2 separate regions of the Homo sapiens genome follow, and region 1 is linked to region 2. Evidence: promoter capture Hi-C in 16 types of primary human blood cells and fetal thymus (Javierre and others, 2016). All regions are on one chromosome and are shown on one strand. Each heading gives the region's core, a stretch centred on a gene start or on the middle of the fragment in contact. The rest is flanking DNA. Distances are from core to core; before and after follow the strand shown. Region 1 overlaps FARS2 (phenylalanyl-tRNA synthetase 2, mitochondrial). Region 2 holds the start of F13A1 (coagulation factor XIII A chain).

Evidence for each region. The method cuts DNA at HindIII sites, captures the fragments that hold promoters and counts their contacts. A CHiCAGO score of 5 or more calls a contact.
Region 1: a contact is called between a fragment that was not itself captured here and the fragment with the promoter of F13A1 in region 2, in 1 of 17 cell types (naive CD8 T cells). The highest score is 5.8, in naive CD8 T cells.

The regions. Positions count from the first base shown.
Region 1 is chr6:5,472,154-5,479,156 of GRCh38, reverse strand. All of the region lies in intron 4 of FARS2 (phenylalanyl-tRNA synthetase 2, mitochondrial), which reads right to left. Among named protein-coding and RNA genes, the nearest start is that of FARS2-AS1, 18 kb to the right of the region's middle. The HindIII fragment of the contact is 2,013 bases long and covers 711-2,723 here.
Region 2 is chr6:6,316,655-6,323,127 of GRCh38, reverse strand. It overlaps F13A1 (coagulation factor XIII A chain), which reads left to right and starts at 2,466. Exons shown (of 15, transcript NM_000129.4): 1 at 2,466-2,541; 2 at 4,446-4,593. The coding sequence starts at 4,464. All of the region lies in intron 1 of LOC124901253 (a long non-coding RNA gene), which reads right to left. The HindIII fragment of the contact is 4,604 bases long and covers 148-4,751 here.

The DNA of each region.
Region 1 (7,003 bases), core at 468-2,967, 840 kb after region 2:
GCCAGACCCTTAACCTAAGCAAAAGTGACTACAGGCTGATACGCATTGCAAGTATGTCCAGGATACAGATTCACGGGTTCACCCCGATGGAATTCCCAGAAGCCATAATTTTACTACATAACAAACAAACTAATTGCTTTTACATACTAAAATAAATGTGAATATATGATGGTGTTTATAATTTGTATATTTTATAGTCAAGAAAAGATAGGGAGCTTCTAAAAATATTGGCACTTTCAGCAAGTATTTGGGGCTCTGTCTCACTCCCCTGCAGGCCTGAGCACTCTCTCCTTGGCTCAGAGGGAGAATAACGCAATCCTGGGAAGCCCTGCTTTGTGGCCACCAAGAGGGAATGAACAAACCACAACCATCTGGCCACTCATGGCAGCTCAGACTAGGTATACACAGCCCGAAGAGCACTAATTTGGGGGAAGCCAGGGAAGCACCCTGGACGAACCACCATTTTAATGGTGGTGCTGGTTGTTCCGCACTTGCAAGACAGGGGCACTCAGTCGATGTGAGAGAATCATGGTGGTTTGAACGCTTATCTTGCCTGGGCATCTGGACATGTATTCTATGTTCATTGGTAGCATAGACTGGGATGAACAGATGGGGAGCTCCAGCCAGGGTCTGGGAAACAGGAGGCTCATGCTCTACTCATGCTTCTGCCATGAGTTATTAAGGACACTTAACCTCTCTGTGCCTAAGCTTCCTGTTTCATAAAACGGAAATGATATTCCTGTCTATTCCCAAGATTAGCTGTCAGGATGAGATCAGATAGTAAGAAAATAATCTGTAAAAGCATCATACAAGTGAAAGATATATGATCACCACCTATCTGTCTGTACCATACTAGGATTTTATCTAGAATTGGAAAAAGCTACCAATAGACAGCCAGGTTAAATAGTAACTGGTCACAGGTTAGGCTAATGAAATTATCTGGAGCCCCTGTTACAGCCACATCAATCTGCGCTCTTTCAGTTGGATTCCACACATATTGACTGAGTGTCTTCGTGTGCCAGGTTAATACTGACATCACGTTTAATATGTGCCAAGCACTAAGTGTTTTATTGTATGTGTGTTGGTGGGGGCGGGTCATTGTTACTGGTTTGTTTTTTGTTTGTTTGTTTGTTTTCTGAGACAGGGTCTCGCTCTTTCACCCAGGCTGGAGTTCAGTGGTGCAATCATGGCTCACTGCAGCCTCGACCTCCTGGGCTCAAGTGATCCTCCCACCTCAGCCTCACAAGTAGCTGGGACTACAGGTACACACCACCACGCCCAGCTCATTTTTTTTATTTTTTGTAGAGATGAGGTCTCACTATCTTGCCCAGGCTGGTCTTCACCTCCTGGTCTCAAGCCATCCTCCCATCTTGGCCTCCCAAACTGCTGGGGCTACAGGCATGAGCCACCACACCCAGCCTTGCCTAAGTATTTGATATGGATTTATTTGCTTACTCCTCAAAAGATATCAGTTAATTACACACACAAAATTAATTAATTTACAATAATTTGTAAACTGAGGCCCAGAGACATTAAGTAATTTGCCCAAGGTCACCCAGCTAGTAAGACTGGATACAAACACAGGCAGTCTGACTTCAGAGCCAGTGTTCCTAATCACTATGTTATATGTCCTGGAGATGCCGCAGTGAGACAAGACAAGTGAAAACATTGTAGCATTCTCTAACTCAAGTCAACTAGGCCTTATAATAGTCACAATTGGCATTAATCAACCCTGTTCTCATGGGTCAAACAAATAAAAGTGGTATTTCAGGAAAGCAGGAAGTGTCGGCAGGAAGACAATAAGCTAGGGTAATGAGATAGGGAATACCTGAAGGAGGTCTGTTGTGAGCTGAGACACTGCTCAGAAACTAGTTCCTGGCTAATCTCTGACCATCTAAGTATTCTTAGAACTAGCTCTGTTTAGCCCTGTTAGACCCAAGGACAGTCAAGGTCTTTACTTGGTTTTGGTTTTGTTCTAATAAAGGAATTATACACAAATTATTATGATAGGCACATAAAACAGGGGCTCTGGCCACATAAATTGAATTGGACATGGAGTCTGCTTTTGAGTCAGGCATAATAACTAGGAAAGAGAAGTACCAATTGCCAGGCCTGATTATCTTTATAAAGAAAGAGGGATATTTTCTTCTGATTATAAAAGTAGTCTGTCTTCATTTCTACATTCTCAACTACCAGCTAGAGCTCCACACTGATGCCTAACTGGCACTTAATATCCTACACTTCCAAAATACACTTCCTTGTTTTCCAGTATTGCAACTGCTATTCCTCCTACATCCTATTCCTCCCAATAACCCCCTGGTGCAGCCTCAGGAGTTAAGCCCACCTCTCCCCATTTCCACTCTGGCCGCAGTTCCAAGTCCTGTTAGGTTTGTCACATCCCTTTTGTCTGGCCCTTCCCCACTGCACTGCAACAACCAAGGGGCAGGCTCTCAATACCTAGCTGTGAACTCCTCGGCATGGCAACGGCCTTCCATAAGCCCTCTCCAACCCCTCCCCATGATATTTTATAAAATATACAAGGGCAACATTAATCTCCCTCCCTCACTTCATTCTTTCATTTGTTCATCCCTCCCTCACTCCATTCATTCATTCATTCATTCATCCAATAACTATTTATTGGTCACCTACCGATACTCTTCACACAGTTCTAGGAGTTGTGAATTCAGTTAACAAGACAGGTAAGTTCCTGTCCAAATGAAGCTTCACTGATAGTAAGGAAGACAGGCAATAAACATGAGAATAAATAAACAGGATAATTCACCAACTGACAAATGCCATGAAGAAAATAAAGCAGAGTGATATAAAAGAAAACATCAATTAGTATGCTTCCCACTCAGGTAATAGAAAACACGACTCAAAGGGACTTGAGAAGGAGATAACATCTCACAAAACAAGAAGTCTAGGTGTGGGCATGTTCCATCCATATCCTGGTTCTCTCCCGTTCGCCGGGGGCTGCCTTCTTCTGAGTGTCAACTGTCCTTACTCAGCAGACCCAGACCTCACCTCCTGATCTTCAACTTGGAGGGAAGGAAGAGGCAACATCTCTTTAGTGACATTTTCTCAGAAGGGAAGACACTTTTCCCCCATCATGTCTCATTGGTCCCTCACTGGGTCACATGCCATGAATGAACCAATCACTGATAATAAGAGAATTACTATGATCAGGTTAGCCCCTGGCCAACGGATAGGCACACCTTCCCTGAGTTACAGAATGGCTAATGGAGCAAAATCATGGGAGAAAACAACATCAGGGGAGCAACGACCGGCATCCATGACAGCAAGCCACTTGAGACTGGGACACAGAGAGGGGAATTGGAGGTTGGGAGACAGGCAAAGAGTGGAAGAGGGACTCTCTGAGCTGCACCTGAGTAATGAGAAGGCGGCATCCATGCAAAGCCCTGGGGTAGGAGTATTTCAGCTACAGAGACCAGTAAGAGCAGAGACTCAGCTGGAAACAGTAAACAGTGTGACTACAGGAGTGAGGGAAGTAAAGAGGGGTCTATGATGTCCAAATAGGAGGCAGGTGCCCATGATGCAGAGCCTTGAAGGCCATGAGCTAGAGCCGAGATTCTACCTGAAGCTGCATGGGAAGTTTTTGGAGGACTGTGGTCAGGGGAGAGTCCTAGTCTGAAACGCACATGCTTCATGCAACGTCTTCTCATCTGTCCTCTTTTATTATCCCTCAACTCACTGACTATAAAAGGAAGTCTAAACTCCTTGGCTGAGCATTTAAGGTCCTCCGTAATCTGGCTCCAAAAGGCTCTTTCTACATCATACATTCAAATCAAGTTGTTTCTTTGTTATGTCCAAAGTAGTACTACGCCCACATTCTTGCACGTGCCTAAAATATACTTCTCTTCAAGCCTGCATATCCAACTCTTTTTGAGAACTGTCCAAGAAATCTAGTCTTTCAACCATTGGCTATGAGTGAATTGGGAACCTCTTCAAAGACTAAGTCAGATGCCACAAAACCTTCCCCAGTACCCACGGAGAAGTCATTTCTCCTATCTGCAAACAATCATATCCTTTCATTTAGTTTTCCTCTTGTGGTACTTGTCAATTTCCACCTTGTATATGGTTCTTCCTGTACACTGTCGTTCACCAAGTAACAATGTTTTGGTAAATGGCAGACTACTTATATATGACAGTGGTCCTGTAAGATGACAGTACTGGGCTGGGCACCGGCGTGGTGGCTCATGCCTGTAATCCCAGTACTTTGGGAGGCCGAGGTGGGTGGATCACGAGGTCAGGAGTTCAAGACCAGCCTGGCCAGCATGGTGAAATCCCATCTCTACTAAAAATACAAAAATTAGCTGGGCGTGGTGGCGGGTGCCTGTAATCCCAGCTACCCAGGAGGCTGAGGTAGAGAACTGCTTTAATCCAGGAGGAAGAGGTTGCAGTGAACAGAGATCATGCCACTGCACTCCAGCCGGGGCGACAGAGTGAGACTGTCTCAAAAAAAAAAAAAAAAACAGTACTGTATTTTTATTGTACCTTTTCTATGTTTAGATATGCTCAGATATACAAAAATGTACCGTCACATTACAATTGCCTACGGTATTCAGTAAAGTGCTGTACATGTTTGTAGCCTAGGAGCAACAGACCATACCATACAGCCTAGGTGTGTAGTAGGCTACACAATCTAGGTTTGTGTAAATACACTCTATGATGTTCACACAACGACAAAATTGCCTAACAACATGTTTCTCAGAATGCATCCCTGTTGTTAAGTGATGCATGACTGTATATCTTATCTCTACAACACACCTTCAGCATAAAATTTGGGACTGTGAGTCTCCCTGTGTCCCACCTTCATCTCCACTTCAAGTACCCGGTACACTGCCCAACATATGTCAATAATAAATAAATGAAATAATGCATTAATGAACAAACAAATGAACAAACCGTGCTGGCTGGCCCTGGTTACTGAAGCCCCAGCAGAAATTAATACATGTAGACAGCGGCATGTGCCATTGGAGATAACGGAAATGTGATGATGGCTCGAGAAGTATGCAGTCCTTTAGTTTGATGGGTATGAAGGACATTCATGAATGATGTGTTTTCCTGCCTTCACAGAACTGAAGGGCTGGTTATTGGGAGGCTACATGGAGAGCACAAATTTGGTAACAGGAGGGATCCTGAGGTTCCTAAATCATTCATGGATAGACTGGGTTTCTGGAGTGGTGTTCTAAAAACACAGTGATATCAGCAGCTAGGGATGCAAGGGTGTAAAGGTATCCAGCAGGGCGGCGTCCATTCTGTGTGGCCTGTGCACTGAGATCTTTGCTTATGCTGATTATTTTCTTTTTCTACTATATTGAAAGACACCGCTGCCTACATCACAAACAAATCTATCCTTATATGCCTGGGTAGATCAGGTAAAAATGCAAGTAACAAAGATAATCCAATTTAGCCTGCAAATAAAAAACTGAGTCTTCTACCAAATTCACCCTAAACAAGAACAATGGAATAACCCTCAGGAATGCTGTAAGAAGAAAAACAATGTATGTAAATATAATTCAATGTTTTCTAAAGCTTTAGATGCCCTCTCCTGAATCAGGAGCAGGGTATTCTTTTGTTTTTTTTTTTTGTTTTTTTTTTTGTTTTTTGAGACAGAGTCTCGCTCTGTCGCCCAGGCTGGAGTGCAGTGGCACAATCTCAGCTCACTGCAAGCTCCATCTCCCGGGTTCACACCATTCTCCTGCCTCAGCCTCCCAAGTAGCGGGGACTACAGGCACACGCCACCATTCCCGGCTAATTTTTTTGTATTTTTAGTAGAGACGGGGTTTCGCTGTGTTAGCCAGGATGGTCTCAATCTCCTGACCTCGTGATCCACCCACCTCGGCCTCCCAAAGTGCTGGGATTACAGGCATGAGCCACCGCGCCTGGCCAGGAGCAGGGTATTCTTAATGCACACAGTGTATCCAACATGCGTGAGTTACAAAGCATGAGGTTTTGCTTGTGCTGATTCGTGTCACAACCTCCTTGGCATTATTTAAATGTAGTGTTTGGTATGCAAATATAGATAACACCAAAAGTAACATCTAAACGAGAACAAAACAAGAACAATACAAACTGGTTAAAAATAATTCCACGTATGAACATATCTATGGACTGCAAACATTACCCTTTTAGGCCATGAATATATATTTGCAGATACTTCATCCAAATATTAACACACTTTTTCTTTATGCACAAAATTTTGTGTGTGACATATACTGAATGTGTGCTCTCTGTATTTAACAAAGTTGCGGGGGTGTGTATTCTTATTTCTTCCACCCAAATAAACAAGCAGACTGACATCACAAGGCTTCTTTTTACTTAGGCAGAATATTGAGCAAACAAATATTTATTCTGGGTTACTCAGCTGTGATACATAAGGGGATTCATGACATGCTATGTCTGGTGCCTGCTAAGCTCTTACGAGATAATTGCACCTTGGACCACCTAGGACATCACATTAAATGGAGAGACCTGATTTTAAAATTTAAAAAACACAGAATGGGCAGAATTTAATCAGTCATGCTTCTATAAAATTAAGGAAGATATAAATAAATGGGCAACAGAAAGGTGCAATAAAACCAGGATTAATCAAACCGTGATTAATTCAGGATCAGATTAAAACCAATAGTGCCAGCTGTATCTGATCCATTCTGCAGCATTATTCTCTCCTGCTCCTTTTTGTTTTCCCATTTTTCCTCCTTCTCATTCCCCTTTGCTCTCACCCCTAGGGCACCCTCCTTGGTGGATAAACCTGCAGGAGAGTTAATTGTCACATACATGGATTTAATCACATTGTCCATCACATTTGGGGGCCCTGCCTTCAGCGATCCATGACTAATTGTTGTGGTAATTTTTCAATCATTAACAGCAGCGCATATGCTGCAGACAAATCCCAGCGTGCCTGCTAAACCCCAGTGACATGCGGCCCACAGGCTCCAGAAGCACCACTACACCAGCCCCCAGCCCCAATCCTATTAGT
Region 2 (6,473 bases), core at 1,217-3,716:
AAAATGATCATGCAGTGTGAGGAGCACTACAACAAGGCAAACTCCTTGCAAGACAACTGGGGAGTCAGTGGAGGGAGACTGGGCAGGGAAGAAAGATGGCAGAGGAAGATGATAGGGAAGAAAGATGGAAGCCAAATGGCAGAAGCTTAGTGATGAAGAGGAGGAGAGGAGAAACAACAGTGGAAGGCAGGGAGGGTAGATTGGTGTTGGGGGAAGGTTTTTTAAAAATACTGGAGACCTCAAATTGTATGGATGCTGAGGGAAAGAGCAGTGCTAGAGGCAGGGTCCAGCTTGTATAGGCCTTGTCAGTTTCAGCTTGCAATTTATCCAAAAAGCAAAGAGAAGTAGCCATATAAGGGCTTTGTGCAAATAATTTGATTTCGGATTTTAGCCCTGAAATGCTCATTCTGACTGCACTGTAGAGAATGGACTGGAAAGGGGTACATACACGGGTAGATTCAAGGGCTGTTTAAGAGGTAGGATAGAAAATATTTGCTCAAGGATCGGATTTGATGATTGAGGGAGAGAAACAAGGAAGCCTCAAGAATGATGCCCATGTGTCTGGTGTACCACCTGCGTGCAAAGTGATGGTATTCATTGAGGTAGGGAACTCCTGAGATGCACCAGGTTTTCCAGGAAAGTGATACATCTCATGTTAGACATGATGAGCGTGTGTTGTCACTGGGATGTGACAAATGAGGATAGCCAGTAGGCACTTAGATACGGGAATCTGCAATTCTGGAAAAGATCTTGGCTAAAGACCCAGATTTGGGAGGTGTCAGGATATAGATGGAATTTGAAAACTATGGGAGTTCCTCAGACAATCAAGGAATATTGCGCTGCACTGGAGGAAACCACAGAGTGTTCAATGTCAAGGAGGCCTAGGAAAAATACCTTCAAAGACAGAGTTCAATGCTTCCAAAAGGTCAGGTAAATAAGAACTGAATCCTGTCTTTTGGCCTGAGCACAGGCCTTGGAGACCGTGACCTCCACTTTCAGTAGAATGATGAGGCGGAAGCCAGATGGCAGATACTTAGTGATGAAGGGGAGGAGAGGAGGAGTAACAGCAGGAGTGGGGACATAGGTTGGGGGAGGTTTTTAAAAAAATACTGAAGAGACCTGAAATTGCATGAATGCTGAGAAGACCCACTATTAGCAAGCAGGAGCTTGAAGCTGCAAGAGGAAGAGTACGTAAGAGTCACAGCAAAGCCCCGGAGAACAAGGCAACGCAGAAGCCTGGTTTGGAGATGCAGAGGGAGGAGGGACCTTTCCAACTTCAGTAACAAGAAGAAAGAGGAAAAGATAGATAAGGTTGCAGGCAGGTTCATAGATTGGTAGCAGAAAATTGAGAGAATTTCTAACCAATGGCATCTTTTTTTTTCTTCTTTATAACATTGGGAGATTGAGTGGCAGGGTCAGAAATTTGAAGACAGTAAAGAAGGTTAGAAATAGCCATGTTTGACTGGGTGCGGTGGCTCACGCCTGTAATCCCAACACTTTGGGAAGCCAAGGAGGGTGGATCACCTGAGGTCAGAAGTTCGAGACCAGCCTGGCCAACATGGTAAAGCCCCATCTCTACTAAAAATACAAAAATTAGGCGGGCATGGTGGCATGCACCTGTAGTTCCAGCTACTTGGGAGGCTGAGGCAGAAGAATCACTTGAACCCGGGAGGTGGAGGTTGCACTCCAGCCTTTGCAACAGAGCAAGACTTCATCTGAAAGATAGAAAGATGAAAGAAAGAAAGAAAGAAAGAGTAAAAGAAAAAAATTAAAATTTTAGGGGGAAAATTTTCTAATTTTTGAACATGCACTAAAATGATTTTCAGAGAAAACCAAGTGTTATTTTCTAATCTGCATGGCATTATTAAAGATGTTTACTCATCTTCCTTGGGGCTAGGCATCCCATTCCTGCAGGAAGTCTTGTGGTTAGGCGGTGGCTGTGGCTCTGGGATGATTCAGGAATGCAGACCATGCCTTATTTGCACAGGAGGGACACGTTGCTCTCACTGCATGCATGGTCACAACTGTCTGTGTGACCTGTCTGTGGGAGGGCAGACCCCCCTCCTGCCAAGCCACAGTAGCAGCTGACCTGCCAGGCAAAAGCATTCCTTTGTAAAGGAAACCCTCCCAGACCCTCTGACCAAAGGGGACGGGTGGGGACTTCCTGGCACTGCAGGGCCCCTTGCCTGGTACTCCCAGCAACTGGTTGCGGTGGGGAGGGCAGATCTAGGGATGGGGATGGGGAGGAGAAGTGGGAATGGGAAATTGGGAGTCAGAGGGGCAAGTGGGAGAGAAGGGCGCACCTGCCGGGATAACAGGCCAGATGAAGTAAATAGAAAATCCTCTGAGCTCCCCTACTGGCTCCAGCTGTGGAGAAGGGGGAGGAGAAAACCCTGTGGGACAGGGGAGGAGGGTGAGGGCTCCTCTTAGGAAGTTATTTAAGAGCCAACTGTCTTGTCTTTCCCGAGTCCGTTTGAGGAAGTCCCCGAGGCGCACAGAGCAAGCCCACGCGAGGGCACCTCTGGAGGGGAGCGCCTGCAGGTAAGCCACCGACCCTGCACCCTATGAGCCAGGGCCCGCTGCGTCCACCTTCTGCACCTCGGTTTCCTGGTTGAACCAGCAAGCGGCTTGCTCTGGGCCCTGTGGCGCCGGTCACAGGCAGCTCCACTTGCCCAATCCTGGCTTCCCGCCCCCAACTCCGCACCTGCCCAGCCCAGCTTCTAAGCGGGACTTCTCTCAGGCTCTCGAGGCAGCTCTCCCGAAGCCGTTGCTTGCTTAGAATGCCACCAAATGGGGATGGGGGAGTTGGAGGTGCTTCCCCAAGGGACGAGCCCCCTTTCCTCAGGGAGCAGATTATGGAGCTGGAACACAAAAGGTGGAGGGAGTGGGGCCAAGTGAGAACAGCCTGCTAGACTGGAACCCCGCCGGCTTGGCTCCCCACTCCTGCGCGCCTCCCCACTCCTGCGCATCGCCTGCCTCCGTCCCAATTTGGAGCTGAACTCGAGCCACTTCTCCTCCTTAGACCCGCCCAGAAGCGAGGGCTCCTGCCCGCCGCACTCACCCAGCCAGGCGTGCACCTGGGGCTCCCCCCTTCTCCCCCTTAGCACTGTGTCTCCCGACAGCGCGCCACACTGTTCTGCACCCCTGGCAATGCCGCAGCCTACCTTCGGTATTTCTCACTAGAGGATGGCTCTCGCAGCCTTCTCCCTATCATTAACCCTTTTTCGCTCTTCTCCCTCCCTTCCCCCGTCAGCTCACCAATGACTGTAAATATATTTATCTATACTTATGGATACCCATTCACACCTTATGCATCCAAACACTCCTGTCTCCTTCTCAGACCAGACACCTTAGGCGTGGTTGTCTTTTCTCCAGCATGTTGTTAGTGCTCCACATGTCTCTGGAACCATCTCTCTACTCTGGTGGCCTCTATAATGGGGACTCTTCACCTCTTGGGGGTGTGCCTGGTTTTTGAAAATAGCCAAGTCTCCAGGAGTCATGACTGGGTAATCCAGGGGATCAAGGGGGAACCTTCACTGGGCCCAGAAACAAAGTCCCCCTTCATTTGGTCATTTGGTCAACAAGTACTTACTGGGCACTGACCGTCAGGTGTGTGTTGTTTAAACTGGCTCAGTGCCTGCACAAGCTCCAAGGGAAGGGGAAGCAGGCTTGGGGAATGGGAAATGTTGGCAACCCTGACTTCTTAAGCCTATTGATAGCCCTATTGAAAATTGCATGCCCAACCTCTCCACCTCCTTATCCTCCTCCATGTGGCTCAATTTCCAAAGCAGTTCCTACCTCCTCACCCCTAAGTGGATTTACTTATGGCTCTTCTTGGGCTCCACCCTAACCCTATCAGACTATAATCTATCAGAGCAAACATTCTGTTTTGTTCTCTGATGTATCCCATGTACCTAGATCACAGCCTGGCATGTCATAGGCCCTCAATAAATATTGGTTGAATTAAATTGCAAATGTAAACGCTTTAGAAGACAACATTTGTCTGGACATGGTTGTGTGCGTTTATTCTTAAAAGTGACTTATAATCTCATAAATCTGTATGAAATGAACATAGATACAGCACATGCATATAACAGGAAACATTTCTTGCGAAGATGCTGCTGTAGGATTATGGAGGGTGGGGGAATCTGGGTCTCCAAAAATCTTTTAATTTTTAAATTTCTTTGAATAAGCCCCTTTTCTTCTGCTTTCCATATGTTTTGACACATACAAAAATCTCCCCAAGATCCTTGGGGAACTGTATTCCATCATTAGACTAATCCTTGCTGCCACTTCTCAGTTTTTATTTATGCAAACGGCAAAATGTGTTGCTCAAGTGCTATCACACACAGATATATCTGTTTCTCTATTTTGGAATCCTTGTCTCAAATGTTACTCACTTTACATGCCTTTTCTGTTGTCTTCTTTTTTTTTTTTTTCTGAAGGACCTTGTAAAGTCAAAAATGTCAGAAACTTCCAGGACCGCCTTTGGAGGCAGAAGAGCAGTTCCACCCAATAACTCTAATGCAGCGGAAGATGACCTGCCCACAGTGGAGCTTCAGGGCGTGGTGCCCCGGGGCGTCAACCTGCAAGGTATGAGCATACCCCCCTTCCCCACCACTCTGGGTCCAGGCACAGCCGGGCCCTGGCCCCTCTTCCCTGCAGGTAAACATCCTCTGTCTCCACTGGGGTTCCCACAAAAGGAAGCCCCCTGCCAATCTCTGGTTTTATAAAGGAAGAAAGCAAAAGCTTTCTTTTAAGTGGTGAAAGCACCGAAGACCCAGAGCCTTGTCCCAGTTCTGCCCCTTACTGACCTTGTAACCTCAGAGAAGTTGCTTTGTCTTTCTGCCTCTCAACTATTTCCTCTACAAAACCAGAGTGCTGGATTAGCTAGGGCCTCTTCCAGCCCTACTGCTCAATGCTTTAGAGAATTTTCTCTAGCTGGAATATTCCACTTCCAAAATATTGTGGCTGTTTTGATTGTCTGGCTTGCACCTCCTTCCTTCTCCCTCCTCCCTCCTCCATCCATTGCTGTGAATTTCAGAGCCGGGGAGAAGTGCCAGACTCTGACAGTAATAGAGATAGAAGCCCTCTATTTCTCTCCAGAGCAGCCTGGTGAGCTGGCAAGGCAAGCTGCTTCCCCAGCCTCTTGCCTCTGCCTGATCCCTAGAAACCTGTTCCGGGTACAGCAGCCGGCAGCTGACCTCCTCTCAGCCCTGTCAGTGGTGACAAGGTCCAGGTGCCAGCACTGGTTTGGTGATACAGACATCATTCCCCTGGGCCATGGCAGGGACATTCAGACTCATGTCCCCGAGTGGCATTGAGCAGGGAGTCTTTTTTGTCAATAACATTCATGCACCAAAATCTAATTTTACTCCTAAGGGTGTTCTGTGCTGGGTTTCACTGGGGATAAACACCTATTTGCTGGGATAGGTGAGCATGGTCATGCTGGAGCTGTGTGGTCGATTCCCCTCATTAGAAGGAGACCAATGCCTGAAAGCCCAGATTGATGCAGCTCTCCATATAGCAAAGGGAAAGGGGAAGTGCAGTTTATCCAGCAAGCCAGACACTTGCCCAGGTGTTGTGGACTGGTGTCATTGTGTTACTGTCACACTAGATGATTTGATATCAAATAGTGAAATCAGGGAGGTATCCAGTACCATCCAAGTTTGGGAAAAGAAGTTCACAGAACAGAAGGGCATCTTCAGTCAGGTGGTAGAGTTTGAGGGGCTAAGACGAACTTGTAGTTCTGAAATCTGTCTCCCAGCTGGATGCCACTCTCTAAAACCCCACCTTGACAGCCACAGAACTGAGTTTAAGAGGACTTGCTAATCAATGAATCCTCATCCCCATGTTATATGTTAGGAAATAGAGGCTGAAGGTAAGCAGTTGATATTCACTGCTTACCCAGTCTACGAGTCTTTTTCTTTAAGAATGCAAATAAAATGCAAAAGCCTACAGATATCAAATTATTAAGCAGGTTGCCTTTGTGTATTCCATCTTCTAGCAAAATTCCCCTGTGGCCCAAAAGACTCTGGGCCCCCGGAAAGGGGGTGTAGGCACTGGAAGAAGTGGGCAGTAAGAACAGGAGGAGTAATGACACAACCGTCCTTGCCACGAGGAGTCAGGACACAGCCACCCTTGCCAGGATTGGGAAAAACGGGAACCTCTACAAAGGCAGTGCAGGGAAGCAGGGAAGCAGAGAGCAGAGGCAGAAGACCTGGCTTCCTGTTCCACATCTGCCACTTCTTGCTCACTCTGGGAAAGTCATATTGGTGCCCAAGCCTCAGTTTCTCCATCAGCAAAATGGAAGCAATGCCTACTTCACAGATTGTCGTGAGCATCTAGTGAGCAGTGTCTGTGATCAAGTCTGACCCACAGCACGTGACCAATAAGTGTTCATTGACTGGGAATGTGCAACTTATCATATCCCAGCAAGGTCAGGAAAGCACTCCAGGGAATACTTGTTCCTA